Regions from separate parts of the Homo sapiens genome. Here all the other regions are linked to region 2. The links are contacts of gene promoters, found by promoter capture Hi-C in blood cells and fetal thymus (Javierre and others, 2016). All regions are on one chromosome and are shown on one strand. The core of a region is centred on a gene start or on the middle of the fragment in contact, and the rest is flanking DNA. Distances in the headings are between cores, read along the strand shown.

Region 1 (2,701 bases), core at 104-2,603, 180 kb before region 2:
GTACTAGCCCAAAGTCCCACAGTTTAGTGGGCTGAGATGGTGTTTAAATCCAATTCCCCTTGGTTCAAAGCTCTTTAACATTAACTCACACAGAGAAGACACATATACAGGGCCCATACATATGCTTTATTTGCTGGAGAAATTATTTATCAACAGTTTAAAATGACAAGCCTTGGCTGGGTGTGGTGGCTCACGCCTGTAATCCCAGCACTTTGGGAGGCTGAGGCGAGTGGATCACTTGAGGTCAGGAGTTCAAGACCAGCCTGGCCAACATGGTGAAACCCCGTCTCTACTAAAAATACAAAAATTAGCTGGGCGTGGTGGCAAGTGCCTGTAGTCCCAGTTACTTGGGAGGCTGAGGCAAGAGAATGCTTGAATCCAGGAGGCGGAGGTTGCAGTGAGCCGAGATCATGCCACTGCACTTCAGCCTGGGCTACGGAGCAAGACTCCATCTCAAAAAATAAATAAATAAATAAATAAAATAATAATAAAATAGACAAGGCTCAAACAGGAATTTGGATTTCGGACTTTTCTTGAACACTCAGAAGATATGGTACCTGGCCCCATGTTTCAAATTGGCTGCAGGTTATGGCGGCCGTCTTTTTTGGAAGGGGCATGCTTTCTCCCGTTTGCCACAGACCCTGCCAGTCCCTATTGTATTACACCTGATCCACCCTCTGTATCAACATTATCTACCGGAGTCCTGCTGGCATTTGCATTTTTGACTTATGTTACATTGTGTCTCTGGGCTCTGTCGTCTCTTCCATTCTTCTACAGTCCAAGTGGTCCCTGAATTGATAATTTTACTTATAAAATCATGCTCTAATATATTTCACATTCTTTATGTTTATTGCTACAAATTGGCCTTCACAACCTCAATTATTCGAGTAAACAACTGGTTTCATGCTTCCGGTCTCAACCTCTTCTGATTCCCTCTCCACATTGCCTATAATTAGAGATATAAATAATGAAAATAGATGATATCCAGTAGCCTCAGAATGAAATGTAAGCTCCCAAGTGTAACATATAAGACCAGTCGTGACCTGGCCTGACCAGTGCTCTCATTATTATTCATTTTCTGCACTTCTCTTCTTATTGAAATATTGGCTCTCTCCAAAGCCATGACCCTTTATGTCTCCTTGTTACCCATTTTTATTTCTACTTGGACTATTCTGTGTGGCTTATATTACTATTTATAACTGAGTATATTGACATAAAGCTAGAGTGATTGCCTTTCTAAAATTCACTTTTTCCTTTATTTTGACCTGATCAGTAAATCCTCTATTCTTTCACCAAGACACAAACAGGATAGAAACATAAGTCCTGGTTTTGCTTACACATCATAACATCTTAATTGGTTGGTCATTCACTTCTCTTCTGTGCAGTGTAGGAGACGTGTAAGCACTTGGCCTTGGTGTCCCAGCTCTGCCATATACTAGCTATTTAGACTTGAAAAGGTTACTTCACATTCTCATGTCACTGTTTTCACATTTGTAAGATAGGGCTATTATAGTTCTTACATCCTACTATAATAGTAGGATTAAATGAAATAGTTCACCTAAAGGGTTAGAACCAGGTGATGCAAATCAGCCTCCAGTGGATGTTAGCTGTTGCTGTTATTTATTTATTTGTTTATTTATTTTTCGAGACAGAGTCTTGCTCTGTCACCCAGCCTGTAGTGCAGTGGCACTATCTCGGCTCACTGCATCCTCCGCCTCCTGGGTTCAAGCGATTCTCCTGCCTCAGCCTCCCCAGTAGCTGGGATTACAGGCAGGCACCACCACACCCGGCTAATTTTTGTATTTTTAGTAGAGACGGGATTTCACCACGTTGGCCAGGCTGGTCTTGGACTCCTGACCTCGTGATCCGCCTGCCTCAGTCTCCCAAAGTGCTAGGATTATAGGCATGAGCCATCACGCCTGGCCTGTTGCTGTTATTATTAGCATTTTTAATTCATTCATTCTTCCAGCCTTGGACTGGGAACCGTACTAGGAAGTTTGATATGTATTTTTTTCAGAACCCACAGTGACTTTGTAAAGAAAACAGTTTCAGCCCTGTTTTCCAGGTAGAGGCAGTGGACGATGGGAGAAAGGGGGCCTTGCCATGGTCACTCAGACTGCTGGGGTGGTGAACACAGAATCAAACACAAGATCCTAATTATCGCTTCCCTGTCTCCTTATGCTCCCTATTTGTATGAGTCTTCTCAGGCTGCTGTGACCAAGGACTACAGGTTTAAACAACAGACATCTTTTTCTAGCTTTGGAGGCTGATAAGCAGTTCATCTACTTCTAGTTCTGGAGGCTGGAAGCTCAGGATCAAAGTGCTGGCAGGGTTGATTTTTTCTGAGGCCTCTCTCCTTGGCCTGCAGAGGGCCACCCTCTTGCTTCCTCCTCACAAGGTCTTTTCCTTTGTGCACAGGCATCTCTGGTGTCTTTTTCTGTGTCCTGATCTCTGCTTATAAAGACACCAGTCAGATTGCATTAGGGCTCAACCTAACAACTTCAGTTTAACTGACTCACCTCTTTAAAGGCACTATCCCTGAAAAGCCACATTCTGAGGTATTGAGAGTTAGGGCTTCAAAATATGAATTTTACTCAACCAGAGAAAGCTAATTTTAAAAAATATGAATTTTGGAGGGACGCAATTTAACCCATGACATTGCTAATCCAATGCTTAACTATCAACCTCCACTGAGAACTAT
Region 2 (2,763 bases), core at 81-2,580:
CTGCCTTGTAGGAGCCTAGGGCTCCCCACAAACATTGTGTTCTCTCTGCTCCTCTCTTTGGTCATTCTATGTCCTGAGTTCTTCCCACCATGTTCTCCTCTCCCACTCTTCATCAGCTCGAGAATCAGCTTAGTATCCCTGACTTGCCAAGTGCCTTTAACCCCCAGCCCTAGACGGATGCTCTTTCCACTGGGTTTCCATGGTCAGTTAGAGGCGCAGGGCCACATCTCCTGCCCTGAAGTCATCTGACTGTGCACTCTCTAAGCCACTCACTGGCTGTGTGACCTGGACAAGTGACCTAAACCTTATAAGCCTCATTTGTTTGATCCACATGGTGAAAATATTAATAGTTATTTTGCCGAGTTGTCAAGAGAATGGGAAGGGCTGGCCTGTTTAGGACAGGAAGTCATCTCATGGTGGCCGGCACTAGCCGGGGAGCCTCCAGGCCTGCGAGCCCAGAGCGGCTTTCCCTTGGGTTCTGAGAGCCTCCTGCTGCACCTGGCAGATCTCAGGATGAGTTAGTGATTCGGGAGTCTGCATGGCCCTCCTCACCCCTGTATAGGTTAGGAGTCGAGTCCTCTCCCCATCATGAAGCATGGCCTCTTCGTGGCCAATCCCTCTCATCTCTCAGGTCTTACTCCAGGCATTCCCCAGGGCCCTTGTCTAAGAAGCTCTCCTCTCCCCTTCTTCCCACATCTGCCCTGTTTTATCACCACCCGATATAGCACCGGCTTGTTGATGTGTTTGCTCAGTCACGACTCTCTCTCCAAAGCAGAAGGTAAGCTCCAGAGAGAAGGAACATTCTCTTGTCTTCTATTCTGCGTCGCTGCATCCTCAGAACCCAGCATAGGGGCTGGAGCCTAATAGATGCTCAGTTAACTGGAGTGGGAAGAATGAATGGAAGTGTCTCCCTAGCACAGCGCCAGGCACAGCACAGGCACTTCAGAGATGCCTGTTATATGGAAACCCGGGACCCCCGGGGCTACGGTTTCCTTATTTTAGGAATTTCCCCCACCCCCGCCACCCCCGACATCCCCGCTGCCCCCACCACCCCCGGCTCCAGGCCCTTCCCCCCTCAGCCAGTCTGTCCCTTTTCCCAGACCCCAACCCAATGGGGGCTTCCTGCAGGGAAGGGCCGGCTGTTCTAGCCTCCCCATTCACCCCTCACTAGGATTTAGAGTCGGCCGCGCTGCACTCCCGCCCCGCGCGGCCCCTGGGCGCCCGCCCCGGGCATGCTCAGAGCGCGCAGGTCCGGGCGGCGGCGGCGGGGGAGGAGGGAGCGGCCGCCCCCGCCGCCGCCGCGCGCTCGCCGGGCCCGGGCGGAGCTGCGCAGTCCTCTCGCAGCTGCGCCAGGACAGCCGGCGCGCGGCCGTGCCCACAAGTTGCCGGCAGCTGAGCGCCGCGCCTCCTCCTGCTCGCAGCCCCCTACGCCCACCCGGCGGCGGTGGCCAGCGCCAGGACGCACATCCCGCGGACACCGACCCCAGATGTAAAGCGGGACCCCAGCCCCTCGCCCCCCGGCGCGATCGACAGTCTCGCCAGCGTCTCCTCTGCCAAAACCCAGGGCTGGAAGATGTGGCAGCCGGCCACGGAGCGCCTGCAGGTAAGGGGCACCCGGGAGCCGGGGGCCAGCCTGGAGGAGGAGGTGCCCGGGCAGAGGAACCTAGTTTTTGCTTCTGCCTACTTTAGGGGATTTGCCCAAAACCATCTTGTAAGACGCATCGATGGCAACATGATGCTGTCGGTTTACCCAGCGCCAGGAACCCGGCAGGGGTATGGGGATGATGAAATTGATAAACGCACGGGTTCAGGCGTTACAACTTTTGGCTTGGAGGTGCTTGTGTGCGTGTTGGTTGGTACATATAAGGTTGGACTTTCTGACTGGCAATTTAGATTGCATTCCACTGACACAATGCAGTGGTCTGGGGTTAGGATTTTTGAAGCCAGATTTTTTTTTTTTTTTTTTTTTTTTTGTGGTCACCAGGAAAGACAGAACAAGTGATATGTGAAAGCATCCATTTGCCAATATAATGTGGAAATATCAAGCTTGGTTTGGCTTGGTCATGGTATGCTACTTATTTTATTTTTCCCTATTCATTGGTTCTCTCCCTTTATCTTCCTTAAACCCAAGCTCCTTCAGATATTTAAGAATCAAAAGTAGGTTCAGCCAGGAATATTTATGTCCTGGGTTATCCCATCAAAAGTTTTTTACTGCTGTCTCCTGAAATGCCAGACTGCCTTGAATTGGATTCTGGAAGCTGGGGATTTGCGGGAGGCGATTGAAGAGAAAGAGGGACCTTTCCCAGAAGAACTCCTTCAGTGACACGTTGGGCCTTGGGATTGCCCTGGTTGCAAGGTTTGAGGACTGCCTTTTGCTGGCAAATATTGTCAAGAGTCACGGCAGCTACTCTGCCAGATAAAATCCACTGAATCCTGCAGTTAAACTTTTGGCAAGCTAGGAGCCACATTGTTTCGTAGTAAACTTTGAAGACGTGTTTAACTGGTAAAATACAGCACCATTGGAGGCTGAGTGCATCTGAAGACTTAGGACAATGAGGCCAGGCCCTGGCTAGGTTGGAGGCTTCTCAATGAACATTTACAGCCCCAAGCACAGTTTCTCAGATGCAGGGAGAGGCTAACCTTTGTCTAGGAGTCCTCATACAGAGGAACAACCCGCAGAGGGCATTGCATTTAGCAGAAACAGATGCCCCACAGCTCCTTTCCAAAGCTCCCTGGGCCATGATTTGCGGGGAGTGTGTTCAA
Region 3 (2,700 bases), core at 7-2,506, 210 kb before region 2:
GTATACAGTGATGAGCACACAGGTGCCCTGGGGATACAACAGGGGCCTCCAGGGATGCAGCCCTACTCCCATGGGTCACCTTCTGGGTGGGGAGGTAACAAGTATGTGTGTGTGTTTCAAGTAGAAATAAGAGCGAAGTTTTAGAATAAACAAGGGCAAAAAGCCTGAGGTCTGAGCAAGTGACTTCTGAGCTTAGAGCTAACTAATGAAAGAGGGTGGGCACAGAAGGCTGCAGAGTCAGAGGAAACAGCCCTGCAGTGTGACCACAGGGTCCAGGGGTGAGTTTTTTGGCATCCCAGAATGTCCTTTGGGCACAGAGAAGACTATTTGAAATTATCTTTTGTATGCGTTCCCTTGTGAGAAGTAAACTTAAACACTATAATGATTCTCAAGCTCTGTTCAACATCCCAATGGGTTCTGACTTAATCTTATCTTTCAACTTAAATTCATCAATCAAAAACCAATTACTCAGCTAAACATTTTAATTGGAATCATAAGTGTGATAGATTCTCTCACACATCACATTTTTTCTCAATCATCACACATTCTTTGCATACCAATAGGCACAGATTAGCTTAAACCAGACACGAAGTGGCAGAACCATGGGCTTGATCTACGTCCTCATATCATCATCTCTATACTTGGCTCTATCTCTTCTTGTGATTGGAAGACTCATACCGCTAATGGAAGAGCTTCATTATCCTAAGCTAACTGTGGTTCTTGACCCAAATGAATTGCAGTTGGCGCTCAGAGGACTAAGGTTGTTTCTGGGAGGGAGGTTTTTGGCTGTCTCAGGAGTCCTGGGCATCCAGGGTGATTCTTCTCATATCAGTGGGATGAGCACACATAGGCCACCTCTCCCTATTATTGCCATCCAACAGGAAACTCCAAGCTCATACTCATCAATGGGCTTGATTTCAAAACCCACAGCCCCTGAGTCCCAGAGACATTATTGTTTAATTGTTCTGATTTTATTGGTAACTCCCACTAAGGTTGTAGCTATTTTCCTTCCCTCCTTAGTTGGATTTTGCACTTTTCTTTGTAGCCCTCTTAAGACATTTTCATGTCTCCCTACCTGGTTCTAGAGATAACTTTAAAGCTTTGATACCCTTCTCTTAGGTCTTCTACTCTGTTGTGCAATTTATTTCTAAACCCTCCTGTCTTTATTTCCTGATTTTACAAATGAAATTCCACTATAACTCCACTGGTCCTCTCCTTTCCACTCCCAAAAGTTTATTGCTAACTTTCTTCAGTAATTTCTCCATCTCAGGACAATTTTAAATCTGTGCCCCACTTCTCTTTGTAGGGCAGGACTGTAACTGCTTCTGTTGAATCCTGCATCCCTCTCATGATTCTTTCTGGTCCTGAGGCCACAGCATGAAAACAATACTGATGCCTATGAGCAGAAGCTTGGCGAGATTCGGAATAGAGTGAGGCCTGGGTGGCTGCAGCACGGTGGTCGGTGGCAGGACTGGGCCAAGATGAGGGTGCAGGGGCCACACCGTGCGGTATCTTTTAGCCCCTGGGTAAAGTGTTTGGGTTTTATTCCAAACCTTTTGGGAAGCCATTGGAGGGTTTTAAGTAAGGAGTAATAGGATATGAATTATATCTTAAAAGGATCTCTTTGGCTATTCGTATGTGGAGAATGGATTGAAAGAAAGCAAGTGTGGCAGTGAAGACAGGGGCTGGGCGACCATTGCTGGAGTCCTGGTGAGAGGCAGTGAGGTTTGGGACTAGACAATGTGAAAGGTATTATGTGGTTGTGACAATAACTTGGCAGGTGGTTCACGAATGCTTGTGGTCTGCCCATGGGGGCTTAGAGGGAGTACCACTAGCTAGAGGAAAGAAAGACAATTGCTGATACTTGCCTCCATGGTTAGGTATAGACTTTCGTCATTTGGAAATCAAAATAAGGGAGTTTATCATTGTCTTGCATTTTTAGTCAAGTGTCAATGACATTCACACATTTTCTGCACTCTTGTGTGCCTTTACATGGGTTTTTCTCCATGTCTTGCCCACCTTCCACTTGGGAGCTATGGCATAGGTTTCCAGGGCTGAAATGCCTGTTGTGTATGCATGCTAGAGCAAATTCTTCCATAACACACACAGAATGGCCACCGTGTATTACCTTTTGTGTCTGTGGCATCGATACCATCAGTCTTGCTTGTATATCTTCTACGAGGTCCTCTGGGTGTCTGTCATTGCTTTAGTGGCAAAAGGAAATATTAGTCATAGTTGGTATGGTTACTTTAGTCCCCAGAGAAGAGTTTGACTTTTAGCAGGATGGAAGAAAGAAAACCCAGGCCAAGACTTTAATGGTATTTTTCATTTAAATTTCTACCAGTCACTCATTTAGTTTTGACTCCTTGATTATGAGATCAAATAAAAAACCAAAAGACACAGGAAGGGTGAGATTTGTGTAGATCTTAGGTATCCAGTTCAGAGTATTACATGTATATCAATACCAGTGATTTGCCCAACACCTTCAGTGAAGCCTCTGCTCTCTGAGGGTCTAAGGAGTCACTCGCTGGTATTTGAGAGTTTCTGAAGCCAGCCACAGGATGCTCCTGGCTCCTTGTCCTCTGCCTCTCCTCTTCCAGAACTGTCTTCACTTGGCTAGTAATGCAACTGTAATGGGAGTAATACAGTTGATGATGGTACTCTTGGGACTGCCAACTAGTAACTCCCTGGAGGCCAAGA
Region 4 (2,763 bases), core at 102-2,601, 130 kb after region 2:
CCCCCCCACATTGATTGATGAATGCATTCTCTTTAAGAGTTGTTTTCGTGACACTTATGAGCAGTGCTAGAATTCTCATGTTTCCACCTAGTATGCCTGCAATAAGTGTTAGAGCAGGAGTGGTGCCATCCACTATTATGGAAACACTTTCCTATTAGTCTATTCATGAGGTGGTGCAAAACAGGTGCTTACTTACCAGACAGCTCATTCAGAGTCCACCTTGCTTGTGGATAAAAGTCCCTTTTCTTCTGTTCTCCCCTCTTTATTCTCCTTCCAGAGATTTCCTAAAGTCTTTTTTACTTCTTGGCCCTTCCTTGCAGCCCCATCCCCAACAATCCTGGTCTATCAGGAACATCTGGTTTGGAGGTAGAAGGAGCTCCAGGGAAAGGGAGCTTCAGGATCCTCAGCATTAATCATCAATAGGAGAAATGGACCTTAGTCTTGAAGATTAAAAAAGAAAGTTTTATGTTGCAAAAACGTGGTGTCTTCATAGTTACTATGCCAACAGAACCCTAATTTTATTTCCGCTTCATAGCAAGGGTCATCTTCTGGAAGAGAAAGAGCAGAGAGGAAGATAAGTCATCCTGCCACATAGATACTAGAGTCAGTCTGAGACAAAGAGAGTCAAAGGAAGGAAATGTGCAGACCTATTAGGGCAATGCAAAAAAAAAAAATAGTTTATTTGTTCATGGTCAGTAAAATCCTCTACTAGGAACCCTACTCATTTTTTCTTTTTAAATTACAGACCCCTTTAAACAAAAGAAACACTACTGATAATTATAAATGTATTAATACATAGGCTAAATCGCTGTAATAGTTACTAATTATTAAATATATATTTTTAGAGATAGGGTTTATTATGACTATTTTAAAACAAATATAAAGTAGAAATGTTGGCATGAGCTACATTAGGAATAAACAATATTGTATGTATATCTTGTTATTATGATGGATTTCTCTTAGTGTAGGCCAGGCTCTTCTTTAACAATAATGGATATAAAACTGAATTTCACATAGCTTTGATAGTTTTAATATTGTTTGGCTGACTTCTTGTCAGATGCAATTGGATCATCAGTTTTCACCCCAGAATAAGGTAGAAAAGATCATATGCCAGGAGAAGGAAATACATCAGCTCTACCATTTTCTTGTGTGTGTGTGTGTGCACTCTTTTAATTACCTTAAATCTGTCATTTATTTGTAGGAATGTCAGCAGGATTTTATTAAAACCAGATTTGTAATCCATAACTTCACTGCAGTGAGCGAATGTGGACTGTAAAGCTCTGAGTGATCCCGCAGGTGAAGTGTCCCATCAACTCCTTTCCCACTATAGGATGCCCACCCTCCCTTAGGATACTTCTAATTCTGTATGTGACACTGATTATATGACAAATGGATTGGTGGAGGATTCCAGTGTCGGCCTATGTATTAAGCATTAGTAACGCTGAATTTATTTCATATTTTTGAAGATAAAAATAACTATAAATAGAAATTTTAATATATTCTGTCCACAACCTAGGTGATTCTATTATGTAGCTTCCGGGGTGGACATAGCATACTTTGGGGATGAGGTCCTGGAGTACCACGCTAAGGACATGGAGGCTGCTTCTTGGCTTTGCAGAAAAGCATGCCAAGCTCATTCATGAATATCTGCTATTGTTTCAGGAGGAGAAAATGATAGACTGGTGTCAGATATCCTGATCAAGATCAAAATCCTCTCTTGGCCCCCATGTGGAGGGTGAGAAAAACTAGACCTATCAGACCAAGTGATATTCTTAGCAAACAGGTGTAGGAGCAGAACTGGTATTTATCTTTCTTCATTCTTGGGCCAATCCTCCAGTGCTGAGACTGTTCCTCCTTATTATATCAAGGGAGAGATAAGGAGAGAACTCATCATCATTTGTGTGGATGTTAAAGACATTAAAATGAAATGTAGCTTGTGTAGCTTTGGCCACGGTCTGAGATTTATTGACAACTAGCAGCCAGTTATGATAGCCAAGATGGTTCATTAGCTAGGGCAGACTCTACATTCGTAGATCAAGATTTCTTTGTAGAAAGGAAAAGTGACTTTCTCAGTGCTGGGATATTCAGATTTAGGAGGCTTTTTTGTTCGTTGTTTGTTTTTTCCTTGTTCAGTAGTTCACAGCTAGAAGAGTTCACATGTTCCTAGAGGATAAAGATGCTAAGATCAGCACTGTGTGAAATATGGAAAATCTTAGATTCTGTGGGTGGGGCAAAATGTATTTTCATTGTATTTGTAGGATAGATTCTTCATCTAGCTCATTAATCTGTAGTCGTTTGTCTTTAGGCTGCAGCATTTGACTCATTCATGATTGTGCCATCACTGTGAAGGAAGTGCCATTTGTGACACTGTATCCCTTTTTCTTTCTTTTAAGTGTAGCTAAAGACAGGTTAAGTGCCCTATCATGGTGAAGCAAAACTAAAAATACATGTATTCCAAGGGAGTGTTTGGTCAAGGGAAGCTCGCTTGCTCGCTCGCTTGCTTTCTTTCTTTCTTTCTTTCTTTCTTTCTTTCTCTTTCTTTCTTTCTTTCTTTCTTTCTTTCTTTCTTTCTTTCTTTCTTTCTTTCTTTCTCTTTCTTTCTTTCTTTCTCTTTCTTTCTTTCTTTCTTTCTTTCTTTCTTTCTTTCTTTCTTTCTTTCTTTCTTTCTTCTATTTTTTTCTATTTATTTCTCTTTTCTTCAGTACCCCTTTTCTCTTACTTCTTTCATCCCCTGTCCATTACCCCTCTGTGCTCTTTTCCCCA
Region 5 (2,700 bases), core at 43-2,542, 160 kb before region 2:
AAAAAATCACAATCAAATGTTGTTAACTTGTTAGGCACATGTTTATCTTTTACCAAACAGTTTATATTGTGAATAAACATATTGCCAAAATCATTAAAAAATTACAATCCCACTTGGTTTTATAGGAATTGCCTAAAGAGGTCCTTAGTTGGTTGGACTGAAGTCTTAATGATATGTTGATGATTACCAAGATCATGTTTCAATTTTACTCTACCAGATGGTTTCTGATGCCTCAGATCAGAGTGAATGTCCTAGGTTCAATTCATTAGTAGGTGTTGCTTTTAGATTGGATAAGCCCAATTAAAGTAGGTCTAAACTAAGGAATATGTAGTACCTGGTGGTACTATTTTGAGAAGACTCCTCTTTACTACTCCGTAAAAATACCTTTTTTACCAGGTCTCTGATGCCTAAAAGTTTATCTTTGTGGTTTTATTTATTTAAGTTAGACATTGTACCTGGCAATCAACCTTTGTATTAGTTAGTCATTGCTGTGTAACAAAACATTCCAAGACTTGATGGCTTAAGAAAACCACTTATTGTTTGTGATTCTGTGGGTTGATAATTTGGGCAGGGTTTAGCTGGGATGTCTCTTCTCTATTCCATGTGCCCACTCATGCTTTTGTGGTCAGCTGGCAAGCCAGCTGGGGACTGCCGGGTCCTGGATGACCCCTCTTATATTGCTGGCAGTTAGCTGGAGTGATGGGGGCAACTAAGCCACATGTCTCTCTTCATCCAGCAGACCAGTCGGGGCTTCTTCCCACGATTGTAGGGTTCCGAAAGCAGCAACAGAACACAAGGTCCCATATGCATGCTCTCTTTAAAGCTGCTTCTTCTGTTGTTTGCCAATGTCCCAGTGGCATGAGCAAGTCACAGGGCCAAGCTTATAGACTCTGTTTCTTGATAGGAGGAGCTGCACAGAACTTGTAGCTATTTTTTTTTCAATCTACCATAACCTTAAACCTAAATATGTGAAGAATGTGATGTGATGTGTCTGTGTGTGTGTGTGCACGTGTGTGTGTGTGTGTGTGTGTGTATATATATATATATATAAATTGTCTCTATATATGTAAGCAGATTTGAGGAGAAAGAAAGTTGAAAAACAGTGTTTAATCTTTGGTTGCTTGAAAAGAAATGGTGAGGTCCCCTGAACTTGCCTACTCAAGTGATAAGGAATGTCTAGGAGAAAACTTCTTTACTTACCTCATAATTCCATATAGATTGAGCCTTGTTCCTGGCTTTATTTCAAAGAAGTTTCATTTTTCCCTTCAGGTTATTAACATATATATTCTCCTAGAATCTTAAGTCACCAAATAAAAACACACTTCTGATTTTTCACTGCTTTATCAACTCTTAAATGAACAAATGCTGTGTGTTTAGGCATCCTTAATTTAATAAAGAAAGTTGGAAGAGAATTCAGAATTTACTCATATAATTGAGTTGTCATTTCTGATTTATTTACATTTTGAAATTTTCTTTGTAATCCAGTTGCATCAAGGCTGAATTTCCCCATGAAATTCTTTAGCTGAAGTCCTGACTGTCAGCTTCAGCCCTTGGGCATTTGTAGCCCTTAGGGATAGTGGCCAAGTGGAAGGTGTGTGCTTCTAAAACTGTTCTTAAAGGATCATGAGAAATTTCCCTGGTGTTTAACAATATTTAGGATTTAGCATATTTACTCGAGAATGGCAATGACTAATAGAAAGCTTAGAGGATGACACGATTGCATTGTGCCTGTGAATGTCCCCAGTGATAGGGGAATGAAAGTAAATACAGCCAGAAAGATAATCGTGGTCTGCATTGTGGACTCCGTGTACCAAAATTTTCTGGAATAATCCCAGTCACAGTATTTTGTTTTCCATCACACAAATACTTTGCTACCAAACTATGTATCTATGAGGCCACCTCTGATATATAATTGGAAACAGCGCAACTTTGTCAGATCATGGTTCCCAATTTTTGGTTTGCAAAAATTGTTACCTTAGATTGTTTATGCTTTTTTCTTTCTTTCCTTTTTAAAGTAGAGCTTTTATGTTTTATTCAAAATATATTTTAAAAGATAAGCAACATAAATTACCTTCAGAGCAAATTTTCGGCAAGATAATTAGGAATGCAAAAAGCTAATTCACAAATGTCTAGTATATGATAGTCAATTTGAAACACACTTAATCTTTACAAAACTATAATATTATTTTTAATATTACCTACTGGTCTGTATGTTACTCAAAATCTTAATCTTGGTGCTGTATTAAATACTTCTAATATCTTCCATTTTCTGACATTCCTTTCTGCAAAAATATTATTCCTGTGGGTTAAGGAAGCTAGATCAGAGATGTGGGAAAAATTGCCCTCACGAATTTGAATATGAACTTGTTTATCCTCATTCCGCTTAGGCATGTGTGACTCCTAGTCATACAGTGAGGAACTAGAACACATTGTGCCACAGCTATATCCTTATTACTTTCCCTCATTCTGGCCTTTCTTTTCCAATACGTCATTTGTTGTCACTTTGGGATTCCTTTGTGTTACTTTTTTCCCTTATGTAAACCTCGAGAGGAGGGTAGCTTCCTTTAGTCCATGTGCCGATGGCTGGTAGATCATTTGACTATATGTTTCACTGTTGGTTTATTTATATGCCCATAGCTGGTACATGTTCTGACCATATGTTTTGCGGTTGGATTAGTTAAACGCGCTTAGGAGATGCCA

Evidence for each region. Contacts are between HindIII fragments. The CHiCAGO score rates a contact against its expected background, and 5 or more counts as called.
Region 1: a fragment that was not itself captured here is called in contact with the fragment with the promoter of PID1 in region 2 in 1 of 17 cell types (monocytes); the score reaches 8.5 in monocytes.
Region 3: a contact is called between a fragment that was not itself captured here and the fragment with the promoter of PID1 in region 2, in 1 of 17 cell types (monocytes). The highest score is 5.3, in monocytes.
Region 4: a contact is called between a fragment that was not itself captured here and the fragment with the promoter of PID1 in region 2, in 4 of 17 cell types (M2 macrophages, M0 macrophages, M1 macrophages and 1 more). The highest score is 6.4, in M2 macrophages.
Region 5: a fragment that was not itself captured here is called in contact with the fragment with the promoter of PID1 in region 2 in 1 of 17 cell types (monocytes); the score reaches 13.5 in monocytes.

What each region holds. Positions count from the first base shown.
Region 1 is chr2:229,450,401-229,453,101 of GRCh38, reverse strand. The region is part of intron 7 of DNER (delta/notch like EGF repeat containing); the gene reads left to right. Among named protein-coding and RNA genes, the nearest start is that of PID1, 180 kb to the right of the region's middle. The HindIII fragment of the contact is 2,854 bases long and covers 1-2,701 here.
Region 2 is chr2:229,269,854-229,272,616 of GRCh38, reverse strand. PID1 (phosphotyrosine interaction domain containing 1) reads left to right here and starts at 1,330. Exons shown (of 3, transcript NM_001100818.2): 1 at 1,330-1,603. The coding sequence starts at 1,574. The HindIII fragment of the contact is 3,085 bases long and covers 1-2,048 here.
Region 3 is chr2:229,481,272-229,483,971 of GRCh38, reverse strand. All of the region lies in intron 6 of DNER (delta/notch like EGF repeat containing), which reads left to right. Among named protein-coding and RNA genes, the nearest start is that of PID1, 210 kb to the right of the region's middle. The HindIII fragment of the contact is 310 bases long and covers 1,102-1,411 here.
Region 4 is chr2:229,138,887-229,141,649 of GRCh38, reverse strand. The region is part of intron 2 of PID1 (phosphotyrosine interaction domain containing 1); the gene reads left to right. Among named protein-coding and RNA genes, the nearest start is that of PID1, 130 kb to the left of the region's middle. The HindIII fragment of the contact is 6,591 bases long and covers 1-2,763 here.
Region 5 is chr2:229,433,259-229,435,958 of GRCh38, reverse strand. All of the region lies in intron 8 of DNER (delta/notch like EGF repeat containing), which reads left to right. Among named protein-coding and RNA genes, the nearest start is that of PID1, 160 kb to the right of the region's middle. The HindIII fragment of the contact is 820 bases long and covers 883-1,702 here.